Regions from separate parts of the Homo sapiens genome. Here all the other regions are linked to region 1. The links are contacts of gene promoters, found by promoter capture Hi-C in blood cells and fetal thymus (Javierre and others, 2016). All regions are on one chromosome and are shown on one strand. Each heading gives the region's core, a stretch centred on a gene start or on the middle of the fragment in contact. The rest is flanking DNA. Distances are from core to core; before and after follow the strand shown.

The links. The method cuts DNA at HindIII sites, captures the fragments that hold promoters and counts their contacts. A CHiCAGO score of 5 or more calls a contact.
Region 2: the fragment with the promoter of WFDC8 here is called in contact with the fragment with the promoter of WFDC3 in region 1 in 3 of 17 cell types (M2 macrophages, M0 macrophages and M1 macrophages); the score reaches 6.3 in M2 macrophages.
Region 3: a fragment that was not itself captured here is called in contact with the fragment with the promoter of WFDC3 in region 1 in 3 of 17 cell types (M2 macrophages, M1 macrophages and M0 macrophages); the score reaches 7.5 in M2 macrophages.

The regions. Positions count from the first base shown.
Region 1 is chr20:45,790,456-45,793,338 of GRCh38, reverse strand. It overlaps WFDC3 (WAP four-disulfide core domain 3), which reads left to right and starts at 1,456. Exons shown (of 7, transcript NM_080614.2): 1 at 1,456-1,507. It overlaps DNTTIP1 (deoxynucleotidyltransferase terminal interacting protein 1), which reads right to left and starts at 1,385. Exons shown (of 13, transcript NM_052951.3): 1 at 1,230-1,385; 2 at 592-662. The coding sequence starts at 1,334. RefSeq lists silencers at 683-822, 1,033-1,302. The HindIII fragment of the contact is 10,060 bases long and covers 1-2,883 here.
Region 2 is chr20:45,577,883-45,580,765 of GRCh38, reverse strand. It overlaps WFDC8 (WAP four-disulfide core domain 8), which reads left to right and starts at 1,482. Exons shown (of 6, transcript NM_130896.3): 1 at 1,482-1,544. The coding sequence starts at 1,519. RefSeq lists an enhancer at 1,732-2,667. The HindIII fragment of the contact is 6,723 bases long and covers 1-2,883 here.
Region 3 is chr20:45,596,322-45,599,204 of GRCh38, reverse strand. No RefSeq gene overlaps it. Among named protein-coding and RNA genes, the nearest start is that of WFDC8, 18 kb to the right of the region's middle. The HindIII fragment of the contact is 3,481 bases long and covers 1-2,883 here.

The sequences.
Region 1 (2,883 bases), core at 207-2,706:
CACCCACCTCAGCCTCCCAAAGTGCTGGGATTACAGGCGTGAGCCACCGCGCCCGGCCCAAAGTGTTTTTATGAAATATAATACTTATACAGAAAAGTCTATACACTTTAATGAGTAATTATAGTGAACATCCATTTCACCACTATCAGCATCCCAAAGGCCCACCTTGTGCTCTCTCCCTTCCCTGACATGCATACTATTAATCCCTCTTTATAGTTGAGAAAACGGGCTCATCAGAGTCTGTTGATGAGAACACAGTTGTCTGACTCCAGAGCCTGTTCTCTTAAACTCCATGCTAACTGACCTCTTTAGAGCCCTCAACCACAGAGCCAGTGAATGTGAGGGATCTTAGGTATTGTTTATTCCACAACCCATCTCCTGTGCCCTTCCCCATTTTGTACGTGAGTTCAGAGAAGGAAGTGACTTGACTAGTTCAAGATCACACAGAGTTACAGAATCGGAGTCTCCTCTTCCTCAGTCCTGTGCTCTTTCTACCGGCTGTAGATCTCCATAGCCTTGTGCACTGGGGATCCCAAATCTGCCATGCAAGCCAGTGGCTGGGATATAAGCCCCATGCAGGGCCAGCCTTACCTTGTTGTCATCTGTGAGCGGCGGCCCCTCCGCTGCACCTGCCGGTGCTTTATCATTATGTTCCAAGGGTTCTGTGGGGACCAACGGAACAAATGTCACTGCGGCCTGTGACACTGGGGTGGGGTGGAGGTGGAGGGTGGGTATGAAGTTAAACCTGGACATCCCTGCTTCTCAGATCCGTCACCATCTCTCCCGCCTTGGGGTGGGACGATAGTTGTAAGGCCTCCTCCACAAAAGAGGAACTGAGGAAGTTTCCTGCCTTAAAAGTCCCGACCCTGCCTTCTGGCACGGCAGGAGGAAGGGAAGCAGTATTTACCGAGGGTCAACTCTGTGTCAGGTGATGTCCGGGGCGTTGTACCCGCCTTTATCTTCCCATCCCACAACAAGTTTTATGAGACAGGTACTAATCATTTCCATTTTATAGAAGAGGATCCTGGGACTCAGGGGGTTGACAGAGATGGCCCACGTCACCTAGCTAGGAGGGCGGCACCAGAATTTAAATCCAGGTCGTCGGGCTGCGAAAACGCCAACCCCCTCTGCAGCTCCAGCCTCCGCGTTCTCTCGCCCGCGGGCCAGGGTCCCAGGAGCCCCGAGGCCGTGCCCGGCCTGAGCCCAGACCTCACCGGGGGCGCCCTCACCGTAAGAACCAGCTGCCCCGCTGCGCCCGCATCCCCCAGCTCCAAGCCGCCCCTCTCGGCCCCGCTAGGTCCCCGCGGCTGCTCGGCGTCGCCAGTGGCTCCCATGGCGCCCCCGGCCCCCACAACTCCGCTGGACTCTGTCACCGGCCGGAAAGTGGCGCCGTGACGTCACTGGAGCGCGCTGCTCGTCCGCCCGGAAGCGCGACGCTGGAGCTGCGGGGTTACCATGGGAACCGAACCGCCGCGCCTCGCCCAGGACAGTTACACTTAGAGGCCTTGTAGGTGGAGGTCGTTGGGGCTTCCTCTCGGGAGGGCTGCGCCTCGATTGTGCAGTGTGGGTGTTCAGTGGCGGTTCAGTCAAGGGATGTTTCCCGCTGGGCCAAGGCCTGGGGATGACTGCGGGGTAGGAGGAAGGGACCAGTTTTCTGTAGGCTGGGGTTGGGGAGCAGAGGGAAGCGTTTGGTACAGCGGCGCCTGCAGTTCAGTTTTTGAAAACTAGATTTTAATATGCTCGGCCAGGGGCGGTGGCTCACGCCTGTAATCCCAGCACTTTGGGAGGCCGAGGCGGGAGGATCACTTGCCATCAGGAGTTCGAGACCAGCCTGGCCAACATGGCGAAACCCCGTCTCTACTAAAAATATAAAAATTAGCCGGGCGTGGTGGTGGGCACCTGTAATCCCAGCTACTCGGGAGGCTGAGGCAGGAGAGTCTCTTGAACCCAGGAGGCGGAGGTTGCAGTGAGCCGAGATCACGCCACTGCACTCCAGCCTGGGCGACAGAGGGAGACTGTCTCAAAAAAAAAAAAAAAAAAAGCACATTAGGCACATGTTAGGTCATCATCAAATGTTAATTATGCCGAGATCGCGCCACTGCATTCCAGCCTGGGGGACAGAGGGAGACTCTGTCTCAAAAAAAAAAAAAAAAAAAAAAAAAAAAGCATATTAGGCACATATGAGGTCATCATCAAATGTTAATTATCTCCATGAGCCAACATCAGCCTTCTAACCATAAGGGCGACTTCCTGGCTCCAAACTTTTTGATCCTATTAAGGAGGTTTTACCTTGTACCTGCCCATAGGACTAAGCAGTGCCAGTGGACACCATTAGGTATCACAGCTAACCAAAGGCATGACCAGGACAGATAAAGAAAAAAAGAAATGGAGAAAAAAGAAATAAAGGAGGTATATGTGGGCAGACTATTTGAGTCATACATAGCAACTTCTCTTGGGTTCTGCCAGCTAGACTTCATACAGTCCAAGAATGGCCTGTGTGGGTTAGAGGGACAAAGATGTAGGTGTTTGGTGCTTTTCATTAGTTCTTAACAAACTCAACTACTGCTTTTCTGTAGGTTTTTGATAGTTTCTTTTCTCTCTTTTTTTTTTTTTTGAGACAGAGTCTCACTCTGTTACCCAAGCTGGAGTGCAGTGGCATGATCTCCACTCACTGCAACCTCTGCCTCCTGGGTTCAAGCTATTCTCCTGCCTCAGCCTCCCACGTAGCTGGGATTACAGGCATGCACCAGCATGCCCAGCTGATTTTTGTATTTTTAGTAGAGACAGGGTTTCGCCATGTTGGCCAGGCTGGTCTCAAACTCCTGACCTCAGGTGATCTGCCCGCCTTGGCCTATTTGATAGTTTCTGAGTGGTCTGTTCCAT
Region 2 (2,883 bases), core at 233-2,732, 210 kb after region 1:
GCAAGAAAAAGTCAGAAAACCCCAGAGAACAATGAGCAAAACATTTGAAAAGAAAATCAAAGAGAGGATAGCCAAGTGGTTAATAAAGATCTAAAAAGGTGCTCAACCTCATTAGTAGTCAAGAAATTTAAATTAAGTCCACAGTGATGTATTTCCATACTCGTAGCAGGATGGTAAAAATGAAAAGATTGTGACAGTTCTACATACAGCATGGTTATGGAACAATAGGAACTCTCAACTACCAATGGCAAGGCTGTGAATTGGTACAAACTCTTTGGGAAATAATTTGGTATCAGCTTGAGAAGCTGAAGATATGCATACCCTGTAACCCATCATTCCCTATGCTGAATGTATAACCTACAAGAACACCTGCCCACGTGCTCCAGCAAATGCACACAGAGTGTTCATAGCAGCTTTATTCTTTTTTTTACATGAGTAAATTGTTTAAAATTTTTTTGACATTTAAAAACATTTATTAATTCATTTAACGTAATAAACTTATTACATGTTGATATAAATAACATTTTTATTTAGAAAATCCTAGTTTTTTATTATACTTTAAGTTCTGGGATACACGTGCAGAACGTTATTACATACATGCTATGTATACACACAGCAGCTTTATTCTTAACAGCTGCAAACTATAAACAACTCAGTAGAGATGTGTGTAGTCATACAATAGATGGCATGGCAATGAAAATTGACAAAATACAGCTACACAAAACAATGTGGATGGAATTCATTAATATAATGTTGAACACAAAAAGCCAGGCACAAAAGAATACATTCCAAGTGACTCCATTGATATAGAACAGAAGCAGACAAAAACAAAAACATATTTAGGGGAATACATATGATCTTGAAAATATGAAAAAGAAAGTCACTACCATTAGCTGCCTTTGAGAGCATAGGAAGGGGTTGTGACTGGAAAAGAATGAAAAAGGAGCAGAAAGTGTTGGAAATTTTTTACTTGATTTCAGTGATAGTTTAATGAGTGGTCACTTCGTAATAGTTCGTTAGACTGAACATTAATGTTTCATGCATATTTTTATTTTTGTGGTGTTTTTCACAATACATATTTTTACAAAAAGGAAAAGTAGCTCTTCCTTGTTTTGTCTCCTTTTCTTTACTAACTGAACTAGTCAGTCCTAAAGCCATTAGATAGGCACATTTAGCAAGGTAGGCGTTTGCCCCAAGGGGAAGGGAGCCACGGCTGGCTCCGTGTGGGCATCAGAGCTGGAACAGGTCAAGGAGGGTGTCTCTGTAGGAGGGCTGCTGGCCTGGTGTGCTGGAGCCAGGGGTAGATGAGAATGCCCAGTGAAGAGGCAAGAAGCAGCATAGCATGGAGACCAGCCTGCCCATGTTGAGAAAGGCATCCCCCTGGGGCTAGAGGGGCAGACTGGCATAGAATGAGAGCCTGAGTGGGGTGAGCAGAGTGTCCAGGCAGGGGAGCAGATGAGGGAGGAGCCTTAGAGCTGGAGCAAAGTGAGGAAGCTGTCTCCATAGGGAAGAGGCCTGATGTGGACTGTCCGAACTGAAGGAGGGTGAGGAGGGTGTCTATGGGGGTGGGTAGCCAGACATGGAGGGTCTGAGCCCAAGGAGATGAGGAGGATACATAGAAGTTAGAGTGGTCGGCTGTGGGGAGTTGGGCCAAGCATAGTGAGGAGGGGTTCCACAGAACAGAGCTGTCTTGTGTCAGGAATCAGAGCCTAAGCAGGGTGAAGAGGGCATCAATGCATCCAGCGATTCTCCTGCCTTAGCCTCCCTAGTAGCTGGGACTACAGGTGTGCGCCACCACGCTCGGCTAAGTTTTGCATTTTTAGTAGAGACGGGGTTTCACCATGTTGGCCAGGCTGGTCTCGAATGCAACCTGATATGGCTGTTGGAGCCCAAGTAGGGTAAGTTGGGCATCTTTGAGTGGCCCAGTGTGGAGGGGCAGAGCCTGAGCAAGGTAAAGTTTGATATTTTAAATTAAACAAGCATATAATATGTATCTAAACATTTTCAAAAAATTAAAACAGGAGTAGTAGTGATGGGTTATATTATTATTCACAACTATTCATTCCATCTTTCCTTTAAGAGGACACTCCTGTCCATTACCTTGCAATTTTAGAACGGCCCGTGGAAGGAAGACACATTTCTGTCTCATTGACTTTGGGTTTGCTGTCAGCTGTGCTTTGCCTATTGGAGTATGAGCAGATGTAGCATATGCATAGTGAGTTTTGCACTGTGAGTTTCTGCCAGCTCCTTTGTGCTTTCTCTCTGCCAGGAGAAGGGGCCTAATCCACATAGAGGCTGCTTCTTTTGTCTTGGTCCCACAGCCTCAAGTAGAGCCCCCACTTGGAACAAAGCAGTAGACAATTTGCCTAGGAAGTCTTTTGTTGTGGCAAGCCATGGAGAGCTCAAAGTTCTTTGTACACCAAAGTAATAAAAATACAGTTGATTCCCATTACTTGGGGGTAGTTATGTTCTGTAAAGTCACTGTGAACACCGGATTAGCAAATACTGAGCCATTGCTCCTAGGGAAAATGCAAGCCTCTGACCACACATTTTCATCATTTGATCAATACATAACCTTGTTTTTATATGTGCTTCTGTCTGAAGACACATGACAGAGATGGTAATTAGAAGGTGCACACAGAAGACTTCTGGGAAGCTGGCTACTTTCTATTTTTTAATCTGTGTGGTTAATTATTAAATAAAACTCTACATACTTTATTTATTTATTTATTTTTATTTTTATTTTTTTTGTTTTGTTTGAGAGGGAATCTCTCTCTGTCCCCCAGGCTGGAGCATAGTGGTGTGATCTCGGCTCTCTGCAACCTCCACCTTCTGGGTTCAAGGGATCCTCCTGCCTTAGCCTCCTGAGTAGCTGGGACTACA
Region 3 (2,883 bases), core at 197-2,696, 190 kb after region 1:
TAATCCCAGCTACTTGGGAGGCTGAGACAGGAGAATTGCTTGAGCCCAGGAGGTAGAGGTTACAGTGAGTCAAGATCGAGCCATTGCACTCCAGCCTGGGCGACAGAGCAAGACTCTGTATAAAAAAAAAAGAATTCGAGAACCAGTTGTATGTAGCTTTGATCACTTCCAAGGGAGAAAAAAAAATTACTTATTTCTTAATGCATTCACTTTGTGCTGAAGAAAAGGGAGAAGATGGTGAAGTCTGGATACTTATGAGCTATGACACTAGTAATAGTGGAAAGGTCAAGAGGTTGGAAAGAAGGTTAAAGAAGGACTCTAGAAGACGACTGGAGTGAGTGATTGACAGTAGAGAGAGAATAAGAGTCAGGGAGAGATAAGATATGGGTGAGAGTCTAGAGGAACTCTCAGGCTCTTTTGGGATCTCGAGTTCTATGAGTATGGATTTCACTGGATGACTTCATTAGAGTTTGGGATGATAAAAGTAGATTTCATTTTGGCCAAGGGGAAATAGGGAAGCTCTAGAGGCCAGCACATTGTGGATCCTGTGGGAGACTGCAGGAGCAGATCAGGCAAAGGGAGTGAGTTTAAGCAAACACAGGACTTGGAGAGTACAAAGAGGACGCTTTCTTAAGAAGCAGTTAAATCCATGGATTCTGGAGTCTAGAAGGGTTGTTAAGTTTGAAAAGGGTAGATTCTCAAGGTTCCTCAGCCTGTTGTACATACCTACCTGCCCTGACACAATCCCAACAGGTGGATTATTATTCAGGCACTTCCAAATGGATTCATATATGGATTTCTACATTGACCAGAGAGAGATGTGCCTGGACTGACAAGTAAATGGCCAAGGTTACCTGGCCTTGTGATCCATCAGTGGGAGATGGGAAAGGAAGAGAGGGAGACAGGGTTACCTCCTTGCTTCACCTGGACCCACTTCCATGGGAGAGAATATCCCAGCCTTGATATTCCAATCAAGCAGACCTAGGATTTCTGCTTCTACTACTCCATCTCCAGCACCCTTAGCTTCCCTCATTAAAGCCACGTACCTGACTCTTCTTTCTGTCCAAGAGCTTTGACTTCTTCACTGACTTCCCATCCCTGCCACTCATCACATAGCCACTTTTTCTCGACCAGGTCCCCAAAGACCTCTCCCTTCTACATGTACCCAATATCTGTAGGAAGCAACCACCCGTATATGGGCATATCCCCATAACTGATCCACAGGTGCCCTCAACTTGCTTCTCCATTTATCCTTACCCTCTTTTTTCCTTTCTTAAGACCATTCCTCTGTTTCCTCTAGTTGTCCTTAATTTCCTTCATGGAAGGATAGCCTTCAAAGTAGCAGTACTCAAAGGTACTATTACCTATTCCTCGGTTTAAGAAGTATTAGATTTGTCCTTTTTGCCTAGTTGATTTCATTTCCACTAGTGGTCATTTACTCTTTCAGGATCCACATAACCTGTAATAGGCTCATTTTAAAATTTAATAACTTCCATTAAGTAATCAACAGGAGGTTATAAAATTGCTACTGTGTGCCTGGGTTGATACCTCTCTATAGGAAAAGGGACTAGGTATTCATGCACAGATGGATAAGGTAGCTACATGCCTTTCAGCATTATAAGTTTTATAATATAGACAAGTAGAGTCCAGAGTAGAGCATGATAACAAAGCATAAGGGGACTCACAGTCAGTACCTATGAGTTAAGGGGAGAGGGTAGAGAGGAAGTTGATGGTGAGAGGTTCAGAGTAGGGTCCCTGGGGCATGCTAAATGTAAACATGGCCTTGAGAAACAGGAAAGGATTGGGGCTGGACACGGTGGCTCACATCTGTAATCCCAGCACTGTAGGAGGCTGAGGCGGGCAGACCACCTGAGGCCAGGAGTTCGAGACCAGCCTGACCAATATGGTGAAACCTCATCTTTACTAAAATACAAAAAGTAGCCAGGCGTGGTAGTGCATGCTTGTAATCCCAGCTACTTGGGAGGCTGAGGCAAGACAATCACTTGAACCTGGGAGGCGGAAGTTGCAGTGAGCGGAGATTGCGACACTGCACTCCAGCCTGGGTGGCAGCACGAGACTCCGTCTCAAAAAAAAAAAAAAAAAAAAAAAAAGAAGGAATTGGGACACTTTTGAGTGTATATATATTTTTATCCTGGAGAAAATAGACCCAGCCCAGGCTCTCTCTGGACCCTGACAGAGAGGGAAGAAGAGAAGGAATGAAATCCTGTTTTCCTACTTTGACATCATGTGCTCTGCCTGGTCCCCAGTTCTGACATCACACTGGACTGTGAACTTGGTGTTCAATTTGGAATTTCTGTACTTTCTTTTTTCCTTTTGCTCCCTCTTATAATGGATATAAAAGGTCTGGATTCTTTTCTGGAGTCTAGAATTTCCCCATAGGTTCTTGCTCTGTCTCAAGTCAGAGGATCTCTTCTATTTTCACATAGTGCCCTGAAGAGTCTTTTTAAGTCTAGGAGCCCTCCATCTGCAGTACTGTGGATTTTATCAGGAGCATTCCCCAGGGGGGGAAATATCTGTTTTGACTTCTGTGGGAACACAGGAGTTTTTTTGTAATGGATAGATGAAGGTGGGGTGGGGTGTATCCCATGGGTATAGCAGGGGTAAGCAATAGATTTATTAGTTACAACTAACAACTATTGTTCCAAGCAACAAATATTATTAATAGTTGTTCAAAGAAACACTAATCTAGGCTGGTGTGTTTCAACCCAAATAAGCAGCAGCATGGCACCTGTCTCCTGGAACTATTTTGTTCCTTGTCAGTCTGCTCCAGACACTCCTCCTTTGTGCTAAGTGCAGAGGCCAAGAATCCAGAGCATCACTCCATGCCCTATTCCTACCCTCACTCGGATCAACCTCTGCCTT